Linked DNA regions of Homo sapiens: region 2 is linked to region 1. Evidence: promoter capture Hi-C in human tissues and cell types (Jung and others, 2019). All regions are on one chromosome and are shown on one strand. Each heading gives the region's core, a stretch centred on a gene start or on the middle of the fragment in contact. The rest is flanking DNA. Distances are from core to core; before and after follow the strand shown.

Region 1 (3,896 bases), core at 738-3,237:
GCACAGACGGGGCTGCAGACCTCCCTCGTGTGAGTCCTATATATAGAGCCCTGCCAGCTGAAGCTCTTGCCTGGTGGAAACTATTTGTAGGCAAGCCTTTCTGAGTTTCCTACCGAACAATGTTTGATCATTTCCCTCCAAATGCCAGAAATTGACTTTCATTCTGGCAGGGGCTGGCGGGGGTAGGTGGCCTGTTGTAAATTCAGCCTTGGCTTGCTTTGTTTGTGTTGTTCAACAACTTCCAGTGAGCCTGAGCGCTCAAGAAGATACCTTAAGACGCCATCTACCTTGCCCGAGGGGTTGAAATTCAGCCACACAGACTGGAAGGCTTCCCGGTTTGCTGTGAAGCCTCAAGGGAGTCATGGTTATGCCTGCCAAACACAAAATGCATGCCATCAGCCATCTGTGGAAATCTTCCCAGGAAGTAACTCTCCCCAAGCGATGCGTTGTAAATGGGCTGCTGCTGCAATGAGGATGGTGCCTAAAATACCATTAGGGAAGCACCGATTCAAATGTAACTAATGAAAGATAATCGGCGATGTAATGAATTGTAACATGTTTGTCCTGAGGTCATGTGTTGACAGAGGATTCTTGGGATGGATAGGAGATGCCATGTGAGGAGGATCCGATCCTACTGCTATTTTCTGGTGTCTTCAGCACCACACAGAGAAGGGACTCAGAGTCTAGATACTGTCTTCAACACTTTTTATTAGAAACGGACAACAGCCGCTTACCAACAACCAGAGGTTGACTTCAACAAATATCCTGCAGGGCCTGGCCTGGTGGCTCATGCGTATAATCCCAGCACTTTGGGAGGCCGAGGTGGGCAATTGCTTGAGGCCAGGAGTTTGAGACCAGCCTGGGCAATGTGGCCAAACCTGTTTCTACAAAAAATACAAAAATTAGCCGCGTGTTGTGACACTTGCCTGTAGTCCCAGTTACTAGGAAGGCTGAGGTGGGAGGATCACCTGAGCCTGGGAGGTTGAGGCTGTGGTGAGTGGTGGTCACGCAACTGCACTCCAGCCTGTGTGACAGAGTGAGACCTGCAGGTCTCAAAAAAGAAAAAAAAAATCCTGCAAACAAACTTAAACTTCCTGTGTTCTAGTTATTTACTTACCAAATAATATTGAGGTCTAAATGTTGTCTGTTAACCTGACATATGGAGGCCGTCCGTGCCCTAGCATTGGATATGGACCAAGTGAATCTCCATGTTCTGAAACCATGTCAGCACCCTGCCTTCCAAGTCAGGCTCCACAGAGGTTGACTAGCAGGATGTTACCAGGATGAGTTCCCAATTTCCTGATTATCCTTGGATGACCTTTTAGGATTTGAGTTGCTGGACTGTGAATTCCAAGGACTAAATTCTAGATTCAACAAGACCAACCTTAAGTGTCCTGCCTTTTATTCAACTCGATGGGAGAAACCATACATGAGAGATCTCTCAAAGCATTTGGCAGTGTTTTCCCATTACATCTTCACAGTTAAGATGATCAAGATGTTTAGCCACATAGGATAAATTACCTTGGCTGAAGTGTATGTGCAACTGTGTGAGCACAAGTAATTTATGGACATGGTTTGCTATTTGCATATGAAACAGACTTCTTGTTCTTTGTGGTGGAGAAAATGGCTCCTATGGGTCACAATTAGCCTATCTGGCAATTAGTCACAATTAGTCACAATGCTGGCAGTGCATCGTGCTTGCAAAGTTGTTTACACAAAGTAAGACTGAGTTTCTCGACATGGACAATATATTCAGAGCTGTGGCTTCTTGGATTTCTAATCTGATATGGTTTAAAGTTTCTCATTGTTCAAAGAAACTATTTAGATATCACTGTTGACTCAATGCTTATTATTGGGCAGTGAATAGAATTAATTGAACAACAGAAGGAGTTGTGTTGCTACCGAGCAGTTAAAATGCTTTGATTGCTTGATAAACATGATTAAGAGGCATGGTTCAACTGTATAGTGTATAAACAATATTACCCTAACAACACCAGGCTTCGAGAGAGAGGAGAGGCCCAGGGCAGACACTCTAGGAGAAAAACTTGAGTGGTATAAGTGGAGTTTTAATTTTTATTCTGTGAATGTAGTGAATAATACATGCAAATTAGAAACGTGAAAGTAAAATGGAAGTAAAACTTTCCATTTGGAAGCCTGTTGGATGTTGAGCAGGTCTGCCAGGAGTTAGAAGACCATTCCGGAAGAGCTGACTCCAGCCTGTCCATGCACGGCTACAATGTTTAGGATTGGGAGGAGACAGCTCTGGAAGCATAGCGTCACTCGAGTTTTAACGGTAAGGTGCTGTTGTCTGTACCTTTGCATGTGTGTTTTGGATTATCATCTGTCACACCTGGGTGGAAAAAACAAACTTGAAAAAGGTTCAAAGTCACACACTGATGAATTTGCGAGAAACACATTTTTTAACTAATGTTCACCTGGTGCATAGGCTACATATTCATTTTTTAAATAAAAAAAATTTTGCATCTGTAGGCTTTTCTGCACGTTGCCGCTTAAACTACGCACCTAGAAATTCATGCTGCATCTTTTGGGAAGATGCTTTCCTGGGGTCAAAAACACATTCATAGTGGTTTGGGCACTTTGTATTCTTTCAAACCTGTAAACTTTAGTTGGTGATTAGAAATAGTTAAGGCAGATTCTAGGCTGCAAGGTTTAGGCTTTGAAATCACTCCCCTGTTCTATATGCCTGCAAATGAGGTCACAGACAGTGAGATGCAAGGCTGTGCCTTTGGAAATCACATTGAAGAATGAACTTCCCTAGCACAGGGCTCAGCTCAGCAGCTTTTTATTATGCAAATGCATAGAGAGGGATTTGGAAACCTCTTCCACTGCCAATTAACGTCAGAAGAAATTGGAGGTTTCTCTAGGACTCAGTTCTCAACCATTAACCCATGCTTCCTACTGGGCTTGATCACTGTGTCTTTTTGTGTATCCCCAGAAGCTCACATGATCCCCCCTAGCCTGTTGTTTTTACCACAAAAGAGCAGGCATCTACCTCTGAATTTTTTAAGTATGCCACCATCTGCCACCCCTCACTTGCCCAAGCCACAAGATTCTGATGCATCCTTCCCAAGGTGAACGTCTTGCAGCCAAGCCCCTGAACTTGCTTGCTAGAGTTAGAAGACCATTCTGGAAGAGCTGACTCCAGCCAGTCCATGCACTGCTTATTCTTCAAGACCAAGTGCTAGTGTTACCTCCTCTGAGAAGCGTCCCCTGACACTTTGAGGAGGAGGTGTGAGTTTCCTTCCTGTACCCTGTCAGCACTTTCCTTCGATGTCTTATAGAGTCCTTGTCACATCACTGTAGTGAAATGACATTTACCCACATGTCTCTTTCTCTTGCTAGATTGCGAGTTCTCTCCATTTTAAAATAATCTTCCTTTAACACAGAGCTTGGTCCATAGTATATGCTTGGTCCTTAATATATGCTTGTGGAATAAGTTGAATGAATTAAACATTTCACATGTCTGAACATTTTTCCTGTGCTTCAGTACCAAGTCTGAAACACCACAATTGATGATAAAATCTCAGGTATAATTAATGAATTATTCTTCCTTGACATGAACTATGTTTTGAGAGTAAGTCAAGTCTTTTGGAGGTTTCAATTATATATTTAGGATGCTGGTTTGGTTCACTCCACTGAAGTATAATATTAACAGAATTACCTTAATAGTATTGCAGTGTATTATGTAAATAATTACACAGTTTCTACTTAGTGCACTGTGTTAAAGAAAAAAAATTATTCAGTGACACTTGGTAAAGCATGGTAAAGTAAGACTTTATTCACGACCGTCGTGTTAGGTATAAGGACCTATCTGGGGAGTGATGGGAGAGATTGGGCTCAACTGTGAATATGGCATGGCCAAGTGAGGATTTGTA
Region 2 (3,896 bases), core at 907-3,406, 700 kb after region 1:
ATGACAATTAAGTAGAGAGCAGTATGTGGCAAAAGCCACTCTGTTAAAGGTGAGGATTAATTTACAAATGATGATTCCACTTGTGGAGGACTGTTAGAATTTTAGAAGCATTTTGAATAGATCTTTCCTTTGCAGAACACAGGAAGGATCTAATTATAACAATTTCATGACACAAGCTACTGAAACTCACAAAATTGTAAGTGGAAGCCTAGAAAAAAATAAAAAACCTGTCTTCTAACCTACAGACCACTGCCTGTCCCACTACACTATGCTCATGAGCTTCTAAATAACTGCCCCTTTATTAGGTCCATTGTATACTGTAGGCATGGAGATGAAATATGTTAGACCAAGAGTATTGCTATCAGTCACACATACACCAAGTACTCAGGGTACAAAATGTTTCTGTATTTGTTTCTACCAGAGTTATTTTCTATAGTGATACCTTTTTTTTGTCAGTGTTTTATCTCCTCATGTTGGATTTGCTAGATAACTTTCTCCCACTTTGCTTTACCCTCTGCCCTCAGCTCCTGGCTTAAGAAAGCATGCAGGTCTGGGCTCTCCACAATTCCTTCAGAGAGGCAGAAACTAGAGAAAAATATTCCTCCTTAAAGCTTAAATCTTTTGGTTAATCATATATATATTTTTTACTGTGGAGCATAGGCAATGATAATGATGGCCCTTCCAGTAGCATAAAGATAATATGATATTAAATTAGCAATAACTCTTTTTTTTTTTTAAGACACAGTCTTGCTCCAGCCAAGGCTGGAGTAGAGTGGCACAATCACAGCTCACTGCAGCCTTGGTCTCCCAGGCTCAAGTGATTCTCCCACCTCAGCCTCCCAAGTAGCTGGGAACGTAATAGCACATGCTATTACACCTGGCTATTTTTTTTTAAATTTTTTACATAAATGTTGCCCAGGCTGGTTTCAAAATTCTGAGCTGAAGCAGTCCTCCTGCCTTGGCCTCCCCAAGTGCTGGGATTACAGGCATGAGCCACCAAGCCTAGCCAACTCTCCTTTTTTTCTGTCTCAACAGTACCTTTTCTTATAAAGAAAGAAAGAGAAAATCGTGCCCTCCTATAACCACACTTCTGTTTGTCTTACATCCTATTTCTGCCCATCTTTCCTCCCCCTCAAAAAGATTTACAATAGATTTGGTATTACTGTGTATGAAGCCAATAAAAGTAGTGTTGAATATTGTGACTTCATTCTAACATGTGCACTTGATGGTGAGAGGAAGATAGAGAGGAGATGAGTGCACTGCAAAACAAACAAACCAAATCTCTGCCACGTATCTAAAAGTCCCAGAGGTTAAGGGTTGGCATTGTCATCTCCACAGAGAAGTAGAATACATTATAATCTCTAGTCTTACTGTCAGTATGTTTAAGCAGGAAAATGCATTATGGGTAATCACCTTGTGGCTGTGTAATACACATCAATGAGTAAAATAACCCTAAAGGAAATTGAGCGGTTATAAAATCAGAATAAACGCCCAGTACTTTGTCCAGTGATCTGAACATCAGGTCTGTGAACACGGAGAATGGCAGCGTGCATAGTCTAAAGAGAATTGGAATAAAATTTGAACACTAACAGTATTAGTATTTTAGTCACAAATGATATGCAGAAAAGACTGGTTTCAAAAGGTACACTTACGGGCTTTAGAGAGCTCCTACTGTGAGCCCCATTGGTAAGGTCTTCCTTTCAAATGCCATCCTAGCCTTTGATTGTCAACTTCGCTTTGACTCCGAGCCACATCAGGCTGTAAAAGCATAAAGGTTAGCTTTCCATTGCAGGAGTGTGCAAAGAAGTACAAGAGCAAAGTCGCAATCGTAAAAGGAAAGAACGCCAATATGTCATGGGATTGCAGAAACTTGAAGGCATGAAATTAATCAGAGAGCCCTTTTCTCCCTCTCATCCTTAAAGACTGCAACAAATAAGAGACAAAGGCAGGACTGCCCTTGCTTTCCCTTACTGCTTGCCCTGTGTGATCACTGCAGTCAGAATTCCTCAAATGCCACAGAGAAAAGGTTAAGGAGGCCTCTAAAAATGCAAAATAGCTCTCACCCTGGAGGTATTCTATGGTGAAATGCTGGAAATCAAAGCATGAAGAAGTTAATATTAAAAAATATTTTCAGGAGAAGGCAAGAGAAAAATTGTTAGATATTTTCTCTTTTTAATCAAGAGTACTATAATTCAGTTATAGAATTCTAAATTGCACAGTTTTGGGGATTTAGGGCTTGTTCTCTGAGGAATCAGTAGTACTGTGTCCGGAATTGGTGGGTTCTTGGTCTCACTGACTTCAAGAATGAAGCCGCGGACCCTCGCAGTGAGTGTGACAGTTCTTAAAGGCAGTATGTCCAGAGTTTGTTCCTTCTGATGTTTGGATGTGTTCCAAGTTTCTTCCTTCTGGTGGGTTCGTGGTCTTGCTGGCTTCACGAGTGAAGCTGCAGACCTTAGCAGTGAGTGTTACAGCTCTTAAGGTGGCACATCTGGAGTTGTTCGTTCCTCCCGTCTGGAGTTGTTCATTCCTCCCAGTGGGTTCGTGGTCTCGCTGGCCTCAGGAGTGAAGCTGCAGACCTTCACAGTGACTGTTACAGCTCATAAAGGCAGTGGGGACCCAAAGAGTGAGCAGCAGCAAGATTTATTGCAAAGAGTGAAACAACAAAGCTTCCACACTGTGGAAGGGGACCCGAGCAGGTTGCCACTGCTGGCTCAGGCAGCCTGCTTTTGTTCCCTTATCTGGCCCCACCCACATCCTGCTGATTGGTCTATTTTACAGAGAGCTGATTGGTCTGTTTTACAGAGAGCTGTTTGGTCTATTTTGACAGGGTGCTGGTTGGCGCATTTACAATCCCTGAGCTAGACACAAAAGTTCTCCAAGTCCGCACAGAGCACTGATTGGTGCATTTACAAACCTTGAGCTAGACACAGAGTTTTGATTGGTGTATTTACAATCCCTTAGCTAGACATAAAGGTTTTCCAAGTCCCCACCAGATTAGCTAGGTACAGAGTGCTGATTGGTGCATTTACAAACCTTGAGCCAGAGACAGAGTGCTGATTGGTGTATTTACAATCCCTGAGCTAGACACAAAAGTTCTCCAAGTCCACACAGAGCACTGATTGGTGCATTTACAAACCTTGAGCTAGACACACAGTGCTGATTGGTGTATTTACAATCCCTTAGCTAGGCATAAAGGTTCTCCAAGTCCCCATCAGATTAGCTAGATACAGTGTGCTGATTGGTGCATTTACAAACCTTGAGCCAGACGCAGAGTGCTGATTGGTGTATTTGCAATCCCTTAGCTAGACATAAAGGTTCTCCAAGTTGCCACTAGATTAGCTAGACACAGAGCACTGATTGGTGCATTTACAAACCTTGAGCTAGACACAGAGTGCTGATTGGTGTATTTACAATCCCTTAGCTAGACATAAAGGTTCTCCAAGTCCCCACTAGACTCCGGAGCCCAGCTCACTTCACCTAGTGGATCCCACGCTGGGGCTGCAGGCGGAGCTGCCTGCCAGTCCTGTGCCGTGCGCCCGCACTCCTCAGCCCTTGGGCGGTTGATGGGACCAGGCGCCTCAGAGCAGAGGGTGGCGCTTGTCGGGGAGGCTTGGGCTGTGCAGGAGCCCATGGCTGGGGGAGGCTTGGGCATGGCGGGCTGCAGGTCCTAAGCCCTGCCCCACAGGGAGGTAGCTGAGGCCCTGTGAGAATTTGAGCGCAGCGGTGGCAGGCCGGCACTGCTGGGGGACCAGGCACACCCTCCGCAGCTGCTGGTCTGGGTGCTAAGTCCCTCACTGCCTGGGGCTGGTGGCGCCAGCCGGCCGCTCCAGGTGCGCGGCCCACTGAGCCCAGCCCACTCGGAACTCATGCTGGCCCAGCCCCGCTTCCTGCCCGTG

Evidence for each region. The method cuts DNA at HindIII sites, captures the fragments that hold promoters and counts their contacts. A contact is called where the count stands out against the background at its distance.
Region 2: a fragment that was not itself captured here is called in contact with the fragment with the promoter of DNAH5 in region 1 in 1 of the 25 tissues and cell types used here (lymphoblastoid cells).

Annotation. Positions count from the first base shown.
Region 1 is chr5:13,942,779-13,946,674 of GRCh38, reverse strand. DNAH5 (dynein axonemal heavy chain 5) reads left to right here and starts at 1,987. Exons shown (of 79, transcript NM_001369.3): 1 at 1,987-2,293. The coding sequence starts at 2,237. The HindIII fragment of the contact is 17,200 bases long and covers 1-3,896 here.
Region 2 is chr5:13,244,212-13,248,107 of GRCh38, reverse strand. No RefSeq gene overlaps it. Among named protein-coding and RNA genes, the nearest start is that of LINC02220, 210 kb to the right of the region's middle. The HindIII fragment of the contact is 4,832 bases long and covers 1-3,896 here.